Linked DNA regions of Homo sapiens: all the other regions are linked to region 2. The links are contacts of gene promoters, found by promoter capture Hi-C in blood cells and fetal thymus (Javierre and others, 2016). All regions are on one chromosome and are shown on one strand. Each heading gives the region's core, a stretch centred on a gene start or on the middle of the fragment in contact. The rest is flanking DNA. Distances are from core to core; before and after follow the strand shown.

What was found. The method cuts DNA at HindIII sites, captures the fragments that hold promoters and counts their contacts. A CHiCAGO score of 5 or more calls a contact.
Region 1: a contact is called between a fragment that was not itself captured here and the fragment with the promoter of FARP1 in region 2, in 1 of 17 cell types (endothelial precursors). The highest score is 5.4, in endothelial precursors.
Region 3: a fragment that was not itself captured here is called in contact with the fragment with the promoter of FARP1 in region 2 in 1 of 17 cell types (endothelial precursors); the score reaches 5.9 in endothelial precursors.

What each region holds. Positions count from the first base shown.
Region 1 is chr13:98,386,224-98,390,747 of GRCh38, forward strand. It overlaps FARP1 (FERM, ARH/RhoGEF and pleckstrin domain protein 1), which reads left to right. Exons shown (of 27, transcript NM_005766.4): 9 at 2,160-2,255; 10 at 3,734-3,897. Among named protein-coding and RNA genes, the nearest start is that of FARP1-AS1, 47 kb to the right of the region's middle. The HindIII fragment of the contact is 3,103 bases long and covers 1,563-4,524 here.
Region 2 is chr13:98,141,549-98,145,553 of GRCh38, forward strand. It overlaps FARP1 (FERM, ARH/RhoGEF and pleckstrin domain protein 1), which reads left to right and starts at 1,546. Exons shown (of 27, transcript NM_005766.4): 1 at 1,546-1,944. It overlaps LOC105370328 (a long non-coding RNA gene), which reads right to left and starts at 2,362. Exons shown (of 3, transcript XR_931670.4): 1 at 2,291-2,362. RefSeq lists silencers at 997-1,046, 1,287-1,596. The HindIII fragment of the contact is 2,199 bases long and covers 1,009-3,207 here.
Region 3 is chr13:98,353,934-98,358,238 of GRCh38, forward strand. The region is part of intron 3 of FARP1 (FERM, ARH/RhoGEF and pleckstrin domain protein 1); the gene reads left to right. Among named protein-coding and RNA genes, the nearest start is that of FARP1-AS1, 80 kb to the right of the region's middle. The HindIII fragment of the contact is 1,122 bases long and covers 925-2,046 here.

The DNA.
Region 1 (4,524 bases), core at 1,864-4,363, 250 kb after region 2:
TTGAGCCAGCTTATTTGGTCGGGACTTCAGATATACTTAAAGAGTGTTAGGCACACTTTTAAGATACAGCAGTTTTATAAATTCATAAAAGCCACATTCTTGCAATTTTGTAGCAAAACACATACTGCACTTGAATTCTTACTTGTATTCTACTTAAAGACATAATGATTCTCTGCACTCTAAAATGTGTGCTCTATTGATCATTCTGCTATTGGACTGTTTCATTGATCAATGCTTCTCTCTTAGTAGCCTTATTGAAGTATTGTTGACGTACAATAAAGTGCACACACTTGAAGTGCATAGTTTGATAGGTTTTTATTATATATATGTATATCCTGTAAAATTCCCCACAAAACCAACAGAATGAACGTATTCATCACCCCCAAAAGGCTGTTCAGTACATTCCTTTTCAACACAAGTGGGTAACCTGTGCTTTTAGTTTCAAAGGGATATAGAGAAAGCACCCGCCTTTCTCATGAAATAGGATCAGATTTCACCCAGTTAGGAAGTTGTAAATATGTTCAGGACCTAAAACCCTTTATTGAGCTCTTCCAGGTTTGCTTATATTTCCCCCTTATCTTTTATCAAAAGAGTTCCAGTGATTCTCTATTCATGCACCAGAAGTTTATGACAGCATAATTATTACAAATCACATCCCAAGAAGAGTTAAGTTGGCTTCCTGCCAGGTAGTAGGGAGTGACATTGTGAGAGCAGTGTGGTATTCAAGGCGGATTTTTTCTTGACAGTTTTTGACCTGCACGCATAGCCTCTGAGTATCGGATAAGAGAAACAATAGGCCGGGCGCGGTCGCTCACACCTGTAATCCCAACACTTTGGGAGGCTGAGACGGGTGGATCACCTGAGGTCAGGAGTTCGAGACTAGCCTGGTCAACATGGTGAAACCCCGTCTCTACTAAAAATACAAAAATTAGCTGGGCATGATGGCGTGTACCTGTAATCCCAGCTACTTGGAAGGCTGAGGCAGGAGAATCGCTTGAATTTGGGAAGCAGAGGTTGCAGTGAGCCAAGATCATACGACTGCCCTCCAGCCTGGGTGACAGAGCAAGACTGTCTCAAAAAGAAAAACAATAAAGCCAAGTGGAGTTTTGAGTACTATCATTAAATTTCAAATCACAATCCTGAACCATTTCTAAAAAGTATTAAGAAGGAAAAGAAGTGTCTCACAATTGAATTAATGTGCTTTGATTGTGTTTGACACAATCCCTAAGTATTGGGAATACCTGGGTAATGTAGTCACGTGCAAAGCCTGTGTCTCGGAACCCACCTTCTTGCCAGTGCCCTATTGCTTCATTCTTGCCACGTTAAATGAACAGGCCTGGTGTTCCAGTGGGCTCCAGAGGAATTCTAATTTCAGCTGAGACTGGGCAGATGGGAGTTGGTATCCGGCAGCTCCCCGTTGTTTCTCCACCTTGGATGGAGACAATGACTCCCTGGCTGCCAAAGACAATGAAGACATGTGAATCCGGCCCAGAGACTGTGCTGGCCTTGAAGACACACAGCAGGCCTGGCCTCCCATCCTCAGTTCTACCGGTGCTGTTGGAAGCTTGATGGGCCCAGGAGCCAGACCAGCGTGGATGAAGCAGGGAGTTGATTGCAAACCTGCTGAATGTTAACCATAGCTGCCAGGAAGGCGTGTGCTTGGAAGTCTCTTTCTGCCACATTAAACGTGTCATTTGCAGCAAATTAAAATAAATCCACGTTGCAGTTTCCATGTGTATAAAATGAAAATAGTAAGTCCATCTTGCTGGGTTTTATCATATCAGGGTTGTTAAGATACAGTATATAAAGCCCTCAGGATGGTACCTGGCGCTTCCTAAGTCCTGGCAGCTAATGATTGTGGTGGTTGTCATGGTTTTTATTTCTATTTATCTTTCTTTTCATCATTATCTTGGCTAGTTTCTTCTCTCCCTAGAGGCAGACTTAGTTTGTATGCCAAAATCCTATAATTAGTGAGAAATAATGATCCAGGAACAGGTATCATCCGATAGCCACAGATCCTGTGAGTTCTCTGCAAAAGTCATCTCTACTGAGCAGTCGCCTGCCAGCCCTCTTCCTTTAGCTCCCATAAGCAAAACAGACCAACTCCCAAGTTGCTTGTTATGCATTTCCTGGCTCACTGCTACTGTCTTTCTTTTTAGGGTTTCACTAAGATCAATGCCTTCAACTGGGCCAAGGTGCGGAAGCTGAGCTTCAAGAGGAAGCGCTTTCTCATCAAGCTCCGGCCAGATGCCAATGTAAGTGGTCCTGGCGGGAAAGGGGACCCGTTGAGCCATGGGATGGCGTGTGTCCTGCAAGGGGTGGAGGTCTGCTTGGCAGGGCTTCTGCTGAACCTCTGGCCAGTGCTACCCAGGTGCTTTTGTCCACATGAACGCCGAGCGTCTCTAGGACAGATGTATCCAAATGGTCGGTAACTCTACGGCTGTCATCGTTGGTAAACAGAGAGCGTAAAGGAGGTACATGAACATGTACCTGGGGAGAGGGTCATTTCCCTGCGCAGATTCAGGCAGCCCCTCCTGATAAACAACCTGAGCTGTGCTATTGCTGTGCATCCAGCCCCAGGCTACACCTGGAGACCCCATTCAGTATCCTGCCCTACCCCAGGCATAGACTGACTTCCCCAATCCCTGCTGGAGGCCCTGAGCCCCCAGTGGAACTCATTTTCATGGGCTAATTAGGTTCCCTTCCCCACTTACTTCCCACAACACGCCTAACACTGTGGCCCACGCCAGGACTGGGACGGGAAGGGAGGAGAAGCCTCTTCTTTGTCTGCCAGAAATGGCGACGGAGGAGGTGGGTGATGTGTCCTGGGCGTCTGTCCCCAACCAGCGTGTAGAGTTCTTTTTCCCATGGCAAAGAAGATGATAAATGGCAATTAGGCTTATAGTGTAGCTACAGTCTGGGTTCAGTAGGTTTTCATGGCCCGACCTGGGAAGCATATACCCATTTTAAATGGTTTTCCATGGAAAAATTCACTGGAGTTCCAAAAAGCTGCCTTATAGATAAAGAACTGCAGCACAGCTTGTTTGTAAGTTGGGTCCACCCAAAACTGTGAGATCCCCCAAAATAGTTAGAACTGCTGGGAATGCTAAGGACAGTAGTAACTTTTGTTTATATAATATGGCCACTTCAATTGGGAGCAGAAAATTTCTATATCCCCTTTCCAGAATCAAAGGGCATGATTTTTTTCAGCCAAGAGTGACACTTTGTGCTCCAGAAAAAAAAATTCATTTCCTGTGTAGTTCCTGGGGTGGCCTGGAGCCCGGAGCCGTGGGCGACTTCACAGAGAAACGACGTAAGAGCCAACATTGACACGAAGTATGAGGAAGAGGATGAACGTTGCGTTTCAGTGATTTTAAGGAGGCAGGAAGGGACTTTCAGTATCTGGGTTTTGTTTTTCAAGGAAATGTAAGCCAAATAAACATAATTTGTATATGAAATCTGTCAAAAAATGGTGTCACTTCCATTGAAGCCACGTGGCTGTTTCTGTTACCCGTCTAAGAGATTCTGTGGGGAAGAAAATGATGGACTAGGGACCACATCTTGTCCTTAAGAATAACTAGAGTTTAGTAAGTCTTTGCACTGATGGTCATGCTATAATAAAATACACAGCGAAAACTTTATCGGACAAAGCTATCTTCTGCCCCTTTTCTCCTATTTCAGTGGTGTATCTATGGGTAATGGAAAAAACCACCGTTGTATTTTCCCTTTTTAGAGTGCGTACCAGGATACCTTGGAATTCCTGATGGCCAGTCGGGATTTCTGCAAGTCCTTCTGGAAAATCTGTGTTGAACATCATGCCTTCTTTAGACTTTTTGAAGAGCCCAAACCAAAGCCCAAGCCCGTCCTCTTTAGCCGGGGGTCATCATTTCGGTTCAGGTGAGGTCGCCACTTTGTGCCTCTGTTTGCTGGGTGCACGTTTTTCCTCCCGCCTCTCACAGCCGCTGTGACACACAGCAGGTCAGGGAGGTGAACGCTCATTGGCCTCCAGGAGCTATGGCCAAGCGGGGGCGCTTGTATCTTAATCCCAGTGGGCTCTGTTTGAACAGCAGAGGCACCAGGCAAAGCCACCCAGTCATGGTAAACGCCTAGCGGGAGTCTCTAACTCAGAAAGGATTTCTCTCTCAGTAGAAGTACAGTGTCTTACTAACATTTGGTGTTGCTTCATAGAATATGTGGACTTGGATGTTATTGGTGAACTTTTCCATTCATTTTTAACAAATCATTGTCTGCCATGTGTCAAATACTGTTCCAGGCACTGAGCCCAGTGATCCCTGCCTTCACTAAAGGCACAGGCTCTTGGGATGGTTGCTTAGTAACCAAACACAGTTATCAAGTGGGCTTAGTTAATTGAACATTTTTTCTGTATATTCAAGGAAAATATCAAGAGACTGAGTGGACCCAAAAATACAGAGTCTGTCAGGATTGCTTTTAGTCCTGGCTAGCCAAGCAACCCTGCATCTCTCCCAGTTAGGGAAGGAGGGGAAGTGAAGCCCTGAAGCATCA
Region 2 (4,005 bases), core at 296-2,795:
TTGAGACCCACTGTCCTAACACTGTGATCCTCCAAGTGTGATCCCAGGACCAGAGCAACATCACTATCTGGGAATTTGTTAGAAATGCAAACTCTCAGGCCCCACCCCAAACCTACTGAATCGGCAGCTCTGGGGATGGAGCCTGACAGTCCTTTATCCCTGCAGGCGATTCAGATGCTTGCTAAGGTTTCATTAGGTAGGTCGGGGATGCGGCCCAAGAATGTTCATTTCTTGACGTTTCCAGGGGCTGCTGGTGGTGGTCGTGGTCTGAGAACCACACTTAGAGAATCACGAGCAGAAAAAAATCTGATCTGTGACACACAGCTGGTTGGGCTGACAGAGCAAAGCCTCAAACCCACCATTTCTTCTCTTCAACCACAGACCACCAAATCTGCAAGTATTACATCTCTGCTCCTCCCCAGGAGCTGCCCACAAGCACCCCCTACTTCCAAGACCCCTGTTCTTGTCTCAACCCGCCCTTCTATCAGGGTCCCTACACTCCACTTCTGCCCAGCTCCTGTCCAGCTGTGAGTTCACTTGAGGCCTCTCCCGTGAAATCTGCCCTCTCGGTCTGAGGTCAGGGAACTCCTGTAAGACGCAAAAGGCCCACGGTTCTGAGCCAGTGGCCTCCGAAGGCCGGAATCCGCTAGCCCCGGGTCTGGCAGAACGTCACTTGCTGCGCCCTAGGCCTCTTCCCGCCACGCTTAGAGAGAGGGACTGGAGGCTCAGAAGGGGGAAGAGAAGGTAACGCGGCAGCTGCTGGGTGGGGACGGTGACTGTGCCCCTAGATCGCTGCCTCCTGGGTCCTGAATCTTGCTCCCCGCTCCGTAGAGTTCCCGAAACCCCGAAGGCTCTCAAGCACCGCAAGCCACTCCTAACCTCCCCCACGCCATTCCCCAAGGGCACTGTCCCCCGAGGCTGGGCGGGCGGGAACTGTCATGGGATTCGCTCGGGCGGAGGGCGCTGGGCCAGGACGTGGGCGGGCGCGGGGTGGCCGCCGCTCCCCCAAGCTTAAGTCCCGCGCAGCCCGGGGTGGTGCCGGAAGCCCGTGCCTGTGGCTCCGGGGGAGGGGAGGGCTCGGTGGGTCCCTGAAGACTGTCCTCCCCGCGCGACGTCGCAGGCGAAGCAGCCCCAGGCAGGACCTCAAAAAGCGACCTGCAGAGTCCGAGCCCCTGACCGCCCGCCTGCCGCTCCCGGCTTCGCCGTGCACACGTCTCCCGCTCTCCCCGGTTCGTTTTTCGCCACAGCTGCTGGATTCGCGTCTCGCCAGTGGCGCTCCCCGCGCTGCATTAGGTAGCGCCGCGCGGAGCCCGGCCCTGGCCGGAAGCCCAAGAGAGGCGCAGATCCCCGGCGGCGCGCTGGGCTCGGGAGGCCCCTGGGCGCACCTGCCCGGGCGGAGCGGAGCGGGGCGGGGCGGGCGCAGGGCGCGGGCCCGGACGCTGGAGGGGGCTGTGGCTCTCCCGCGTCCCCGCTGCTCGGGCTGCGCGGCGCCCGCCTCCCCCCGCCGAGGGGCCGGCCCAGACCCGGGGAGGGGCGGTGGCCACTGCACTTCCCGCTCGCCGGCCTCAGAGGCGGCGGGTCCGGCGCGGGCGCAGCGGTGCGGGCGCTCGGCTGGGGCGCGGGGCGGGGACGCGGCCGCTGCCCGCTTTGCGCCGCTCCTCCCTGCGCGAGTAGCGCTGGCCCCGGCGTCGAGGCGGCCATGGCGACCCGGAGCCCGCTCCCCACCCACCCCGCCTGCTCCGCCCTCCCCTCCGCCCCGCGCCACCTTTGATGGCTCGGACCTCAGCCGGCCACCGCCAGCCCTGCTCGCGCGCCCGCGCCGCCGCCGCCCGCGGGTATTAATAGCCGGCGCCGCCGCGCCCTCGGCCGCCGGGGGCTTGGGAGCCGCCGATCCCGGAGCCCGAGCCGGGAGAGGGAGCCGCCGCAGCCGCCGGCGCTGTGGAGGTAGGAGGCGCGCGGTGAACAATGACCGCGGCGGGAGGGCGGGGGCCGGCGGGGTCCGGGCCGCGGGCGGCAACTTGTGCGAGTCCAGGCTCCCGCAGCGCACGGCCGCGGCTGCGGGCGAAGGTGGGCGCGTGGTCCCCGAGGTCCTGCCCTGCGCAGTCGGGCGGCGGGTCGGGCCCGGGCAGCCCCGGCCACCATCGCAGGAGCTCGGGGGCCTCGGGGCTCCGGGCTGCCCCCTGCGCCCCTCTCCCCTCACCTCCGCCGACGTCGGGCTGCGGGGCTCCGCGCCGGTCCCCGCTCGCCTCCCCCGACCCCGGCGCCCTTCCCCCGTTTCCTTCCGTCCTACCCGCCCGCTGACAGCGCTGGACGCCGCTTCCGGACCTCGGGCCGCAATCTCGGCCCCTGAGGCCGGTTGCGGGCCGGGGAGGTGGCCGCTGGCGCGGATGCCGCCGGGTGCCCGCCGCTCGCCCACGCGCGGCGCGAGGGTTCCCGGCGGGTGACAAAGAGGAACACACCCTCTGCCCAAGTTAGATTTGTGTCTCTCTTTACTGTCTGCCTTTATGCAGGGCAAAGTTTTTTTTATTTTTTATTTTTTAAAGCAAAGGACAGATTGCTTTGCGGCGAGTATTTCCAAACAACTTCTGATTGTGGTTTTACGATTCAAGTTCCGGAAACTTTAGCTGTGTGATCCGGCTGGACCCCGGAGACTCTGTGTGTGTGTGTGTGTGTGTGTGTTTTATTTGAGGGGGGGAAATACGAATTCCCTGTAATGAGTCTGGATCTCGTTTGTGGCAGCTGGAGGCCAGCGGCTGTTGGGGATCGAGTAGGGTTCCCCAGAAAGGAGGGAGCTGAGGCTCACAAAGAAGCGAGGCCCTGGTATCTGATCAGTTCGTGGAGACGTGGGAGAGCCTGCTTGTCATCTGGAACAGTTTAGCAGCCTCGGCCTCCCTGTCTCTCCCAGCCCTGGGGAGTACCGGTGGCCTCTGGCCGTTTCATTATATTGTTGTTAAGGCTCTTCTCCTTGTCAGTTTACCAGGTTTGACCGCCCAGCCCTGGTCTCTGCGTGGAAACCCCCGGGGGCCCCTCTCCTTCCAGTAGGCAACATCTTCAGAGCCAAACCCTGGCCTAGCACTGGCTTCTGTTTAATGTGCTTTGCACGTGGTGACTTGCGGAGCCCATTTCAGAACATCCTCCAGCATTGTCTTGCTTTTCTTATTCAGTCTGAACAAGGAGAGGAGAAAGAAACATCTTTCTGGTCCTGAAAGCTTTAGGGAGAGTTGCCTTAAAAATTGGCTTCGTTGTTCCGGAGACTTTAGGAGGGCCCTGCTTCATCCTATCTTTGGCTTTCTCCCTCCTTCCACAGTGTTCTCGTAGGGGGTTTATTCTCAGTCTTTCGGATGGGTTGGTCTCCAGGATGTGACAGTTTCTGACAGTGTGCTTCATAAGTGGGTACAGCTAGCACATGGCTCACTTTATATTCCTGCAGCATCGTTCTGCAGCAAGGCATCAATATTGGAGTTACTCCAAGCACAACGAAGCGTTTGTGTTTTTAGAATGTCTGGCTAATAGATCTGCTTCTGGGTAAAATAAATAGAAGCATTATTGGGCAATGGCTGCTTTACTGAGGGAATTGTTGGTGGAGACAGTGAGTAGATGCCTTCCTAGCCCAGCGCCTCCCAGAATCTCTTACTTGTTTCTTTTATGTGAATGGGAAACTGGAAACCCTCGGTGTGGAGGTGGCTGTGCCTCCTAGGGGCAGATTCTATGGTGCACCACCCCGCCCCCGTTACTTGGGGTGTGGTGTTTCATTGAGAAGTTCTGTCACTGTGGGAATCCTTTTGAAGCGTGGTTTCTAATGCCCCCTTTCACATTGATATTCTCTTCCTTTAATTGATACAGGGATGGATTTATTCCTTGCTTCATAATAGAATGTTAACTTTACTCTGTAGCCAGACTTATCAAAGAAGATCTTAAAATAATTATCCTGGACAAGTTTCTTACTGGGTTATTGCATTCACCTCAGAATTATCCAGAGTTTACAAGGAACCTGGAGGAACGTTT
Region 3 (4,305 bases), core at 236-2,735, 210 kb after region 2:
CTAATGAAAATTAAACAAATGATTTAAAAATAGTTTAAACTGAGTAATTGATGTTTTGCAAGGACCATGCCTGAGGTCTGCTGAATCCTGGTTAAGAAGTAAAGATTGTAGATATTAAAGCTTCCCTCCAAGTCCAGGCTCCCTGAAACCCCACACATTGCATTGTAATATTGTCTTGGTTTGATTCCAAAGCTTCCCTTCACATATATCTCTAATACCAACTCCTACTTAATGAGTTCAGTACACAAGTGCATAGGGATAGCCTGTACTACATTTGATTTTGTAGTTTGGTTTGCAGATCTGTCTTTAATTTCTTTTTCATTTAAAGCTTTTTTGGTAAATACGTAAAACCATATTCTACGATTTTCAGTTCAAATTTTATTAAACACAGATTCCCTTCACCAGATTAGTGTTGTCAAAAAGGGAAGGTAGGGAGAGGTAGTAGGATAGATGAAAAGAGACTTAGAGGACATAACCAGATATGAAACATGGTCTTGGTTTGGACGTTAGTTTTGACAGATCACCAATAAGGACGTTCTTTAGTTAATTGGAGGAATTTGAATATTGCCTGAGTATTTGATGAGAGGAAAGTTTACAAAATGGAGAGGTACAAATCTTTGAAAAAAGAAGTAGCTGATAAAACAATTTTGAAAAGAGTCTGGTAGGATTCTTATTAAACTAAATATACACTAATTTTTTTGACACAGCAGTTCTACTCCTAAGTATTTACGTAAGAGAAATGAAAGCTTATGTCCATAAAAATAAGTATAAAAATATTCTTTGCAGTTTTATTCATAACTCCAAACTGGAAATCGCACATGTGCCATCAAGAGAAGAATTGTTAAACAGACTATGGTATACTACATTATGTAGAGGGAAAGAAGTCTTAGACAAAATTATATTTTCATTTATCCAAAGTTCTTAAGCTTTAGGTAATAAGCACTTGAAACATAGCTAGTGCAAATTGAAATGTAATCTAAGTATGAAATAGGTGTGGAATTCCAAAGAGTAGCAAAGAAAGCAAAATATCTCATTAATCATGTTTTTATACTGATTACATATTTAATTGGTAATATTCTGCACAGATGGGGTTAGATAAAATATGAAACCATTTTTAAAATTTTATTTTGGTGACCAGGCAAGATGTCTCATGCCTGTAATCCTAGCGCTTTGGGTGGCTGAGGCATGTGGATCACTTGAGCTCAGGAGTGTAAGACCAGCCTGAGAAACATGGTGAAACCCCTCTACAAAAAATACAAAAACTAGCCAGGCATGGTGGCTCACACCTGTAGTCCTAGCTACTTGAGGGGGCTGAGGCAAGAGGATCACTTGAACCCAGAAGGTAGAGGTTTCATTGAGCCAAGATCGAGCCACTGTACTCCAGCCTGGGTGACAGAATAAGACCCTGTCTCAAAAAAATAAAAAATCTCATTTTGGTTTTTAAAAAGTATATGAATGTTTATATTCATACACATCACATATAATGAGAGATATGGAAATGTATGTACTAAGGCAGTGGTTCTTAAAGCATGGTCCACAGACCAACAAGCAGCATCCACATCACCTGAGAACTGGCTAGGAATGCACATTCTCAGGGCCGCATCCCAGATTAGGAACTCTGGGAACAGGGCCCAGTGGTGTACGTTTCAACAAGCCCTTACTTAGGGCAATTTTAATACATGCTCAACTTTGAGAACCACTTCCCTAAAGTGTTAATGATGATCTCCTAATGGTGAAAAACATATTTTTAAAAATTTTCCGTATTTGAATTATCTAATTTTCTAGATTACATATGTTTAAATTGTAATAGATTATTTTTAAAATTAATAGGGTTTTTTTGTGGCATCCCACAAAGGTTGATTTCTTTGTGGCATCCACAAATTGTGTTTTCATTTTCAATACTTTCCCATTTCCCCTTGGTTTCTTCTTTATTTAAAAGTATGGTATTTCATTTCTAAATCTATGGGAGATTTTTCACAAATTCTTCAATTGTTGCTTTATTATTGAATTCCATAGTGGTCAGAAATCATAGTTCATATGACATGAAGCTTTTAAAGTAATTTACTGATACTTGTTTTATGGTCCCGAATATGTCTTATGTTGGCAAGTGTTTTACATGCACTTGGAAAAGACTGTATGTTCTGTGTTGGGTAGGATATTCAATATATTTCAATGAGGTTACGTTGTTCAAATCTATTATTTATTTTCTGCCTACATACTAATATTGAGAAATAAATATTAAAAATCTCTGTAATTATAATTGTTGATTTTTCTACAGTCATGCGTCACTTAACGATGGCTATATGTTCTGAGAAATGTGTTTTTAGGCAATTTCATTGTGCGGACATCACAGAGTGTACTTACACAAACAGGTGGTGTAAGTACGGTTGTCTCTATAGCATATTACTGAACTGAATACAATAGGCAATTATAATGGTAAGTATTTGTGTTTCTAAACTAAAAAAGGTACAGTAAAAAATACAGGATTATGATATATACCACTGACGTATTATGCGCCTGTTCTTGACTGAAATGTCACTATGCGGTGCATGACTGTTTCTCCTTGCAGTCTCATCAGTTTCCTAATCATGTATTTTAAAATTGTTATTAAGTGTATAAATATTTAAGATTGTTTCGTGCTCTTGACTAAGTGACTCCATTATCATTAAGAAATTACCCTTTTAAAATTTTATTTATTTATTTATTTATTTATTTATTTATTTTTGAGACAGCCTCGCTCTGTTGCCCAGGCTAGAGTGTAGTGGCACAATCTCAGCTCACTGCAACCTCTGCCTTCCAGGTTCCAGTGATTCTCCTGCCTCAGCCTCCTAACTGGGACTATAGGTGCCCGCCACCACGCCCGGCTAATTTTTGTATTTTTAGTAGAGACAGAGTTTCACCATGTTGGCCAGGCTGGTCGCGAACTCCTGACCTCAGGTAATCCACCTGCCTCAGCCTCCCAAAGTGCTGGGATTAGGCATGAGCCACTGAGCCCGGCCAAGAAATTACCCTTTTTTAAATCCCCAGCAATATTCTTTATTCTGACATCTGCATTGCCCAACACTAATATAGCCACTTCAGTTTTTAAATTATTATTTTTTAGTATGGTGTACTTTCACCCTTTTTTGTTTAACTTATTTGTGTCTTTACATTAGCAGTGTATTTTTGTAGGCAGCATATACTTGCTTTTTTCTTTTTTAATCCAGACTAACAATCCTTGCCTTTTAATGGGGGGTGGAGGGGTTAGACCATTTACATTTAATGTGATTATTGATATAGTTTAAATTGAACACCTTGCTGTTTGTTTTCTTTTTGTCTAGCCATCATCTTTTGTTCCTTTTATCTGCCTTCCTTTCAATTGAAATTTTTTGATGACTTCATTTTATATCCTTTGTTGTTATCCTTCCTTTTGCTTATAGTAGCAGTTTTCTGAGAATGTATTGACAATGGTGAGGACTTACTGTACATTAGGCTGCTTAAAGTGTTCTACAGTTTTGTTGCTTTTTAAATTTTGTGTGTGTTTCATTTTGGATTATTTCTATTGTTAGGTCTTCAAGTTTAGTAATATTTTCTTCGGGAATGCTGATCTGCTGTTACAGTCATCCAGAGAGCATAACATTTTATATCTCACAGTATAGTTTTCACTGTAGAAGTTTAGCTTGGATCTTTTTTTATATCTTCCATATCTCAACTTTTCAAACATATGGAATATAGTTAGAATAATTATTTTCATGTCCTTCTCTATGGAGTCTGTCATTCGTGTGAGTTCTAGGTTAGTTTTTACTGATTTTTGTTGTTTCCTTGTGGGTCACATTTTCCTGCTTCTTGTACCTGATTTTTAAAAATTGGATGTCACATATGCTGCATACTTCTGTATTACTGTAAGTTTTATTGAATTTGTTCTGGGATATAGTTATTTGGAAGCGATTTGATCCTTTTGGATTTGGTTTTTAAGACTTGTTAGCCTGGACACTGTAGGGCATAGTCTGGGGTGAATTATTCCCGACTACTAAAGCGTGACTCTTCAGCACTCTGCCAAGGCCCCAGGAATCATGAGGTTTTCCAGACTGGCTGATGGGAATAGGTAGTATTCCTGGCCCTGTGAGCACTAGGCACTGTTACCTCTAATACATTTCTGTTTTTTTTTTTTTTTCCTGACCTTGACTACTTCCCACACATTCAAGGATAACCCCCTGTGGCTCTCCTAAGTTTTTTTTGGGTATCTCTCTACTCCCTGGTACTCTGTCCTGTGAACTCGCATCCCTTTGGCCCCCCTGAACTCTCCCCTCCATCTCTTGCACTCAT